2 separate regions of the Homo sapiens genome follow, and region 1 is linked to region 2. The links are contacts of gene promoters, found by promoter capture Hi-C in human tissues and cell types (Jung and others, 2019). All regions are on one chromosome and are shown on one strand. The core of a region is centred on a gene start or on the middle of the fragment in contact, and the rest is flanking DNA. Distances in the headings are between cores, read along the strand shown.

What was found. The method cuts DNA at HindIII sites, captures the fragments that hold promoters and counts their contacts. A contact is called where the count stands out against the background at its distance.
Region 1: a contact is called between a fragment that was not itself captured here and the fragment with the promoter of PLEKHG3 in region 2, in 2 of the 25 tissues and cell types used here (aorta and thymus).

The regions. Positions count from the first base shown.
Region 1 is chr14:64,406,250-64,411,078 of GRCh38, reverse strand. The region is part of intron 2 of MTHFD1 (methylenetetrahydrofolate dehydrogenase, cyclohydrolase and formyltetrahydrofolate synthetase 1); the gene reads right to left. Among named protein-coding and RNA genes, the nearest start is that of MTHFD1, 20 kb to the right of the region's middle. The HindIII fragment of the contact is 9,503 bases long and covers 1-4,829 here.
Region 2 is chr14:64,702,837-64,708,209 of GRCh38, reverse strand. PLEKHG3 (pleckstrin homology and RhoGEF domain containing G3) reads right to left here and starts at 3,786. Exons shown (of 17, transcript NM_001308147.2): 1 at 3,506-3,786. RefSeq lists an enhancer at 5,006-5,373. The HindIII fragment of the contact is 6,175 bases long and covers 1,515-5,373 here.

The sequences.
Region 1 (4,829 bases), core at 715-3,214, 300 kb after region 2:
AATGCATGCAAATCAGATGATTAGGGAAAGGCAAAGTGCACAGAAAAGCTTCTACAATTTTAGTTTTAATAAAAGAAATGTTTAATCATGCGACTCTTGTTGCAGAGAACTTTTACAGGAGTATAGGGAGGCTGTGGGGGCAGGAGGGATTATGTGAACACAGATGGTGTTACAGCCCCTCCCCTAAACAAGGCCCACCTGGTTCCCACTGCCAAACCCCAAACAGAAAGTAGAGGATATCTGCATCTGCACTGGAAACTAAGCAAGGATGCTGCAGGCCTACTAGAAACATGTGGGATTTCTGCTGCCATACCAGAAAAACAGAGTATGGAGGGCTGAGAAACTGTCATCAGGCAAGAAAAATGCCTGAGAGGCAGGAGCACCCAGAGGGCACATTCCACACCCTCTCCCCCACCCGCAGGGGCAATGGAAAGCTCCCTGGCCCCGCCACACAGACAATAGAAAGGAGGGTGGAAGGACCTCCCTCTAGTTTACACAGAATAAACAGCCAGGCAAGACAAAGGGCAATCTGCTGGCCCCAACACAGAGAGGAGGCCGGGTGCAGCAACTCAGGTCTATAATCCCTGCACTTTGGGAGGCCAAGGGAGGAGGATCGTTTGAGCCCAGGAGTTCGAGACCAGCCTGGGCAACATAGTGAGACCCCCCCCCCCATCTTTACAAAAAATTAGCCAGGCATAGTGGTGCCTGCCTGTAGTCCCAGCACTCAGGAGGCCAAGGTGGGAGGATTACTTGAGGTCAAGAGTTTTTCCATGATTGCACCAGTGCACAGTGAGTCATGGTACTATGCCTGGGCAGCCTGGGCAACAGAGAGAGACCTTGTCTCTTAAAAAAAAAAGAGAGAGACAGGGAGAAACTTGTAGTGCAGAGGCTAAATCCTTTGAACCACCATGCAGTGTCTCACTATGTTCCCTCTGTTTCTTTGACCATGAACATATTTATAGTTTATCATTATAACCATTTATTTGTAAAATTTTATTGTACTAATATTGTTTCATGCTCCAGTGGTTGGTATTTCTCCTTCTCAAGGTTGATACATGCTACCATAAGTTGTGTTTCTCCCAGAATTGCAGAGGGTATCACAGAGGGAAAGGTGGTGGTCCCTTCATATCAAAGACAACTGAAGCACAGCTCCTTTTAACAGGACCATGGCAGAGAAAGAAGCCGGCTTTTGTAACACAGGATTTTCTGAGCTTGTCATATTGGTGCTATTACTGGACGCTCTCCTCAGATCTCAGGACATGGCCTGAATCTTAGCTTCAGTTGTCCCTTATACAGACAGTTCTCAGTTTTGTGGTGCTAATTTGAATTGCAAGAGCCAGAAGAGTCCTTTGAGGGGAATTCTACCTTTTTTTTTAATGGGTTATTTGTATCTAAGTACATTAGATGCTTCTCGTAGGGGCTTCCCTAGACTTTTCGTGCCTCTCATGTTTCCTCTTTGGTCACTTTCTATGTATGTTCTTTGCCCCACCACCCAACCCTCACTGGTTCAGTTACCAGATTTGATACATTCCGGAATTTTTAGATCAAAGTAGGAAAGGAGGTGGTTCTAAATACAAAAGTATTATTTTTTTACAATTTCATTCATATTTATACCTACCACTAGTTATTTAGTCTTAACTCTGAGATTAAATTGTTTTATCACTTGCTGCCAGTAAGGAAGCCACAACTTCTCTGTTCTAGAATTTATCTTCATTCATGTTTCAAGTAAGTGAAATGTAACTTATAAGTCAGTTTTCCAGGAAAGGTAGGTGGACATGTTTCTAAGTCTGTATAACTGAAAATATTTTTCTGCTGTCCCTTGCACTTGACTGGCCTTGCCTGATTTGGAGTGACAGCATTTTCCTTCGGAGATGTTGTCTTTGGCATCTAATGTCACACAGGAGAAGTCTGAAGTCTCTCGCTGTTGTTGTTCCTTTACATGTAACTATTTTCGGCCTGAATATTTCTGAAGGAGTTTGTCTAAAACACTAAAACTACAACCAGTTCCAGAAAGAAAACTTAATAGTTATAGTTATGAGCGTATGTCAAAGTTTTATTGGAAAAGACATCTAAAAGCCAATTCAAAGAGTCACTCTTAGTATAGGTTTTATTTATTTATTTATTATTTTTGAGACAGGGTCTTACTCTGCCACCCAGCCTAGAGTACAGTAGCATGATCATGGCTCACTGCAGCCTGCAACTCCTAGGCTCAAGCAATCCTCCCACCTCAGCTTCCCAAGAAGCTAGGACTACCAGTACACGCTGCCACAAACAGCCAATTTTTGTATTTTTTGTAGAAATGGAGTTTCTCTATTGCCCAGGCTGGTCTCAAACACCTGGGCTTAAGCAATCCTCCTGCCTCAGCCTGCCAAAGTGCTAGGTAGGTGTGAGCCACCACACTTGGCCAGTATAGGCATTTTATAGGGGAAAGTGGTTATAGAACCATTGATAGACTAGATGCAAAAAGAATGTTTAAAGAACGTGTATTCTGGCCGGGCATGGTGGCTCACGCCTGTAATCCCAGCACTTTGGGAGGCTAAGGCGGGCAGATCACCTAAGGTCAGGAGTTCGAGACTAGCCTGGCCAAGATGGTGAAACCCCATCTATACTAAAAATACAAATATTAGCCAGTCATGATGGTGTGCACCTGTAATCCCAGCTACTTGGGAAGCTGAGGCAGGAGAATCCCTTGAACCCCGGGGGCAGAAGTTGCAGTGAGCCAAGATCGTGCCATTGCACTCCAGCCTGGGCGACAAGAGTGAAACTCCATCTCAAAAAAAAAAAAAAAAAAAAGAATGCTGATTTCTCCTTGAAGGTGGCTGAGTACTACATCATCCAAAAAAGATCCTATTCCAGAACAGGTTAGGGACACTTTTTTTTTATACCAGGAGTCTGCAAACTTTCTGTAGAGGGGCAGACGGTGTATATTTTAGGCTTTGTGGGACACATACCGTGTCACAGCAGCTGCTGCTATTGCTTTTTTAACTCTTTATAAACTGGGCAGCATTTGGATACGGGCCACAGTTTACTAATCTGTGTTCTACACCGTAAGATATCTTGGGTATTGGTCTACTGGTTCATTTTTCTTTCTGTTTCAGAAAACCTTATGAAGATACAGGCTAGTTGAGTTTATTAACTGTATTCTGTCCATGTATTTTGTGAGGACTGAATGAGTTACTATACATAAAGCACTCTGAATAGTTCCCGAATACTGTTAAAAATCAGTTTTTTGGCCAGGTGCAGTGGCTCATGCCTATACTCCCAGCACTTTGGGAGGTCAAGGTGTGTGGATTGCTTGAGCCCAGGAGTTAAAGACCAGCCTGGGCAACATATCGAAACCCCATCTCTACAAAAAATACAAAAATTATCTGGGCATGGTGGTGTGCCTGTAGTCCCAGCTCATTTGGGAGGCTAAGGTGGGAGGATCCCCTGGGGGACAGGGGAGGGCAGAGGTTTCAGTGAGCAGAGATCACATCACTGCACTCCAGCCTGCATGACAGAACAAGATTCTGACTCAAAAAAAAAAAAAAAAGAGAGAGAGTGAGAGATACTAATGAGGCTATGGGGCTGAGGCTGTATTTCTATCACCTTACCAGAAACTTTTTTTTTTTTTTGAGACAAAGTCTTGCTCTGTCACCCAGGCTGGAGTGCAATGACACGATTACAGCTCACTGCAGCCTCAACCTCCCAGGCGTGAGCAATCCTCCCAGCTCAGCCTCCTCAGTAGTGGGGACTACAGGCAAGCACCACCACAACCAGCTAATTTTTGTATTTTTTTGGAGACAAAGTCTCTCTATATTTCCCAGGCTGGTCTTGAACTCCTGGGCTCAAGCAATCCACTCGCCTTGGCCTCCTAAAGTGGTGGGATTACAGGCGTGAGCCACCATGCCTAGCCCATTAGTATCTCTTATAATGAAAAGTCAAGTCTTAATTTCCTATAAATATTCAGTTATTTGGGAAGTTACTCATCCACTTTATTAAAAAAAAATGAAAACTCAACTTTTAAATATATACTTGGGCCAGATCATGAATGTTCTTGAATGCATTGCTAAGGAATTAGGAAAACAAAGGGGAAGAACAAATGGGTTTTAGAGACAGATCTGGGTTCATTTCCCAGACTCAGTCCCTTCCTGACTGGCTTTGGGCAAGCTACCCAAGATCTTTGAGCATGAGTTACTATGGCTATAAGGGGACATCTCCTACATCGTAGGGTAGTATAAAACATAGAACGATTAGAAATATAAACAAACAATTTGAATTATTGTAGACACTCTATATAAGTAGTACAGGTTGAAGATCCCTAACTCAAAAATCCAAAATCAGTCAGGTGCGGTGACTCGGCACTTTGGGAGGCCAAGGCAGGTGGATCACTTGAGCTCAGTCTGAGACTAGCCTGGGCAATATGGAGAAATTCTGTCTCAAATACTAAAATTAGCTGGATGCCTGTAGTCCCAGCTACTCAGGAGGCTGAGATGGGAGGATAGCTTGAGCCTGGGAGATCCAGGCTGCAATGAACTGTGATCACACCCCTGCACTCCAGCCTGGACAACAGAGTGAGACCCTGTCTCAAAAAAAAAAAAAAAAAAAACCACAAATAAAAAATGCTCCAAAATCAGAAACTTTGAGCACTGACAACGCCAAAAGTAGAAAATTCCACACCTGGCCTCATGTGATGGCTTACAGTCAAAACACAGTTAAAAGTGCATTTCATGCAAAATATTATTAAAAATATATAAAATTGGCCGGGAGCAGTGGCTCATGTCCGTAATCCTAGCACTTTGAGAGGCCGAGGCAGGCGGATCACCTGAGGTCAGGAGTTCAAGACCAGC
Region 2 (5,373 bases), core at 2,537-5,036:
GGGGTGGGCATAGGACATACCTGGGAGTCCCACGTCCTCAGCCATCTGCAATCTAGGGTAGGGCAGGAAAGCCTCCCTAACCAGAAAGTTTTTGCCAAGGTTTTCTATTTTCCCCTCCCTCTAATTCCCCACTCCTGCCCAATATCTAAAATGAAAAGCTTTGCACCTACAGTCCTTAGCAATGACATTAAATATCTCATGCTACCCCTGCAGAATTTGGTTGGAGAAATAGTTTATCGAACCTCTCTATAGTCTTTGCTAAGCATTCAACATACGTTATCTCACTGTACATTGCCATGATGCCGCATGTGGTAAGTATGATGACTAACTCCACGTTGGGTAAGAAACACAGCTCAAAGGAATTTAGCACCACATCAAAGTCCACAGGGCTAGTGAGCTGTCAAGCCAGGGATTTGAAACCAAGGTGTGTCCAACTCCAAACTCTGTTCCTCGATGCCACAGTGGGATGAACTGGGCTTCAAGTTAGAAAAGGCAGCGATGAAGAAAAATACCGCCTTCAGGCATCACCTCAAAAGTACCTTCCTCCTGGAAGCCTCCCTGGCCACCCTATCTAAACTGTCACCTCACCCCTTCCATGACAATTCACACCTACCTTCCCTATCATATTTTTTATTTCTGTTTATCACTAACACACTTGCTATTTCAATCTTGTTTATTGTCACTTCTGCTAAAGTCAGCTCCACTGGGTCAATAATTATTGTATATTTTCTTCACTGCTGTGTCTTCTGCATCTGGCATTCATACATAGTAGGTGCTAACTCCTTAACTATTAAATGAATGAATAGAGTACTTTAAAATAGAACTAAGGGGCATGAGTACTGGGAGGAAAAGGTGATCCGTCCATTCAGCAGAAGAAAGGAGAGATGAGAAAAGACGGTGTGGGAATCTGGCCAGAGGTGAGTTGTGGGGCCCAGATGAGCTTGACAAGAGGAAATGAGGATCTGCCAGGTCCGCTGGGGGCTCCAGTAGCCCCTTCCTCCTGGCAGTTGTGATTTCCAGCTGCCAGGGCCCCCGCTGGAGGGCTTCTGCTGAGGAGGGAGGATGGAGTAGGGCGGGTTTGCAGCCACGGAACAAAGGCCTGTGGACTTGCAGCTGGCCAGAGAGGCGGGACAGAGCAGTGGCCTGGGCCAGAGGGGCGGCCTGAGATGGGGGAGGGGGCACAGATGAGGAGCTGAAGACAGCCCTCAGTGCAGCTGCAAAAGCAACACCCTCCCAGAGTCCCTGCAACCCCCAACACAACAGAGAATAGCCAGAGGGCTTCACTTTTAACCCTCCAAGGCCAGGGCGGCCTGGGCTTGTGGCAGCACCCCTGGCTTACAGCTGGAGCCTTCACAAGGTTCTGGGAGCTGGGAGAAGAGAACGGGCAAGGCATACCTCTGCAACAGAGGAGCCTTCCCCCTCCAGCCCTGGTCATCCCGCAGGCCGTGGCCTTTGGCCTCTTCCAGCGTAAACAGTGACCGTGGGATAGCTGCGGATTTGGTAAGGCAAATGTTTACTCTGGGGCTGAGATATTAAGACCAGGGTGTTTTAAACATCCAACAATGGCTCCTGGTATCTAACGTCTCCTTGTGGCACACACGTGGGACATAGCCAGCAAATTGTAAAACCCTTGGGAGACTCCCTCCCGAGCCACTGTGAGCCCTTTAGTTTTAACAGGAGTTTATGGAGCACTTTCCACAAATGAGGCTTCCTTTGATCCTCACCACAGCTCCTATGAGGAAGAGCAGGCAAGTAATCCCACTTTATTTATGTGGAAACTGAGTCAGAAAAGATAAGTGAATTGGCCAGATCATGTTGGAGAAAACACAGATCAGACAATGAGGACATCTGACCTCTGGTTTCTACTTGGCCAATAGGGTCTAAGGCTGAAATCACCTCACCCCTCTGGGCTCTGCTGCCTTCACGAGTAAATGAAGTAGGCTAATCCAAGGGGCCCCCCAGCCCAAGTGACTCGCACTCTTCAACTCTACCAATCTTCCATGCTATGCAGAAGAGCCAGGTCTAAAACTCAGGCATAAACCCGTGCTGGACTATCAGGCCAGTGCTCTTTCCACTTCCCCTGCCATGCCACTTCTAATAAAAGGCAGTAGAAAAGCCCCCAAAGCAGCTCTTCAACAAATCACTCCCTCAGCAGCTAGGACTTGGCCTCTGGGTACCTCTTCCCCCAACTTCCTGCCCCATCCCCAGGGCAAGTTACCCAGGGAGCTAATGGGTTGTCCTATCTTCCAGGAAGGGAGTGGAGGACAGCAGGTGTCGAAAGGAGAAGTGAGGCCATTGCATCCAGGGGGCCAGCCCGGAACCACAGGGGAGAGATGTATAACAGAGAGATAAATGTACACTTTTGGTTCTCACTCCCTAGTTTCCTCCTGGGGAACAGCTGGGGTTTAATCACTCAGGATCCCATCCTTGTCCAACAAAGGATGGCCCGGAAAACCACACTGCTGAAGGCGAGGTGGCCGATGTGCTCAACGGGGAGGCCCTCCCCCGCTCCGGACTGTCATTGCCCTCCCTGCTTATTATTTCTTGAGCAAGGGCCATGTGACTGGGCTGCGTGCAGAGGCACGGCTGGGGAGACTCTGGGAACCCCCACTCCAGGGTTCCCCGTAAGGTGAACGCAGTGTGGGTCTCCTGCTGGGGCCCCCAGAGCAGGGGACAGGCACCTACATATGCCAACAGATTAGCGAGTGACCTCGAGGATCAAACTCTTTCGCGGCCTCTAACAACACCCTCCCCAAAAGCCACACCTCTCCAGCCTCCAACCATTCCATTCTCCCCTCCGTTCTTCCTTTTGTGTTCCAAAGGCGCCCCGAAGAGTCAAAGTAGCTATTTAACGCCTTAAAAATTTAAGCTTGCACGCCTTATACTGGCTTTCCAAACCAAAGGGCTGGGTGTAGGGGTGCGAAGAACCAAACCGACTTCAGGAGTGGACGAGGTCGAGGCAGCTGGTGGCCGGGCTTTCCGCTCCCCGCTTCTGGCCCCCACTCTCCTCCCTGCCGGACAGGTAGCCGAGATTCCCAACAGCGAGCACCGTGCGGCGCCAACCCGGAACAGGCTGCAGGCGCCTCCGGGGCTGGCAGGAGCCGAGGCTCGGGTCCTCGCGCAGAAGGGTCCACCCGCCAGGCCCACAGCTCCAGCCAAACACCAGCCCTCGGGCGCGCGCGGCCTCGCGGGCTTCCTGGATTTCAAACTGAGCCTCTCTGGAGCCGCCCGGCGCATTTGCCCCTTTTGTTTCCGGAGTGGAGGGAAAAAAAGACAGAAAAAGTCTCCCCATACGACCCTCCTGCGCTCGCGCACTCTGCGGCAGGGTGGCCCGGGAAGCAGCCAACACAGTTCCAGGCCCTCCTCGGTCGCCCCGGTCCTCACCCCGCAGGGGGCTGGCACGGGGGCCGCGAAGGGACTGGGGCCCCAGCGTGACTGCCGGCACCGCCGCTCAGCCTAATGCAGGGAGATAAGAGGGGAGAGAGGAGAATCAGGGGACACTCACCGAGCGGTAGCTGCCCCGCGGGCTCGGGACGCGCACGGCGTGCGGGGCTGCCCAGGTGCTGCCGCGACGCGGGCGCGAGTTTGAAAGTCGCTCTCTGAAGGGGCTGAGGCCGCCGACCGCTCCCGCCCACCGCCAGCCCCTCAGCTGGCCCGGACTCGGCCAGCTGCAAGCGCGGCCCCCGGAGACCCCAGGCAGCGCGCGGCTTGCCAGCGCCCGGCAGGAAGTCGAGCGGAGCCGGAGCTGCAGCGGGAGGGCAGGAGGGAGCGAGGGAGCGAGGGAGCGAGGGAGCGAGGGAGCGAGGGAGCGAGGGAGCGAGGGAGGGGCGGGCCAGGAATTTTTCCTGTGGGTGGAGACTCCAGCTCGCGGCTGCAGTCCAGCAATTGGCGGCTCTGCGGGGGCCGGGGCAACCTTCGCGGCGCGGCGAGCCAGAGCCGGGGTAAGGCTGCGGCGGCGGCGAGGCCTGGGCGCGGTTAACGATTAACGCCCGCAGGGTGATGAGCGCGCACCCCCGGGCAGCCTAGATGCTCTAGGATACCAAGACGCACGTGGTGGGGTCACCCTGGTGTCACAGACCTGCTATCACCGCCTCCCGAGACAGCATGGACTGCCAGAACGTACCCCTTGTATGGACAGGGAACACCGGGCCCTGCGAAGGGGGCTGAGGGCTTTCCCAAGTGAGTGACCAGCCGGGATCGATCTGGGGATCCTAATCCTACCAGAGCCGGCCGTGTCCGCTTTTCCAAGTCAGAAAGGCATGTCTTGAATTCCTCACCATAACTCGGTCCCTGTGACGCTTTACAGTGGTAAATGCAGACCTCTGAGAAGCTGACGGGAAAGAGATAAAGGAGACAACGTGAAGGCAACTCCACAAGGAACTGTTAAATAGGAAAAATAAAACACAGAAACCTGGATGATAGAGGACCCGTTTTTATAAAACAAAGAGAACCGTTTGTCTTTATGTCTCTGTATATGACCGTGTATGCATGGAAAGGTACACACCTGGAAACTGGGGGGCAAGGGGTGAGGATGGGGGACAGAGACATTCAATACATTTTGAGCAAGAGCATAAATCCAAAAACCCATAATAATTCATCAGTAAAGATCCTGAAGAACAACAAGCCCGGAGGAGGGAAGCCCAGAGTGGGGCTCCGGAAGAGGAACAACGCCCACTGGTTAGGCGCTATCACTAGTTCCTTGGGAGGAGGAATAGGACGCTGATATTAGAACCACGGGGTATATTTGTTATCCAGGTGTACAGCAAACGATTTCTAGAGGTATCATTTAAAACAAAACAAGCGCCCGCCCCAAAATGCTGCTCTGGGCAAATGCAAGCTCCAGGTGATCTACTGGGAGGGGAGAGGCGGGGCAGGCGCGGAAGGAAATGGCTTTCAGGTGACTTTGAAACTGGATCCTGGCGGAGGGTGGGGTGAAGGCAGCGTCCCGGCTCCTGCCTGCGGAGGAAGCGGTAGGCGCTCGGTCTGGCAGGCCCAGAAAGCGGGGCCCACATTCCTTAGGGAGGGAGGGTGTGTTGGAGGCTTGCAGAGCCCCAGACTCGCGGACCGTGAAGGTGAGAGCAGAGATTGCAGAAGAGGGGCTCGGAAATAGATCAACTTAGTTGGGGCTCCGCTAGACCCCGCCGGCCAGGGGAGAAGTGACAAGTCCCCCTTCTGGCCTTCCAGGACTTGTGGTCACCCCTTCCAACCTCAGGCTTTCACCTTTTTTTGTTTATGCTTTCTTATCTGATCACCTGAATCTTACGAATGCCTTCCGGTCCGCTTCAAATTCCAGCTTCCAAAGAAGCCCCCTGACTTAGCCACTTGTGAGCGACCCTTCACTCCTTAGCCAGGACACGTTACAGTGTTAGTGGC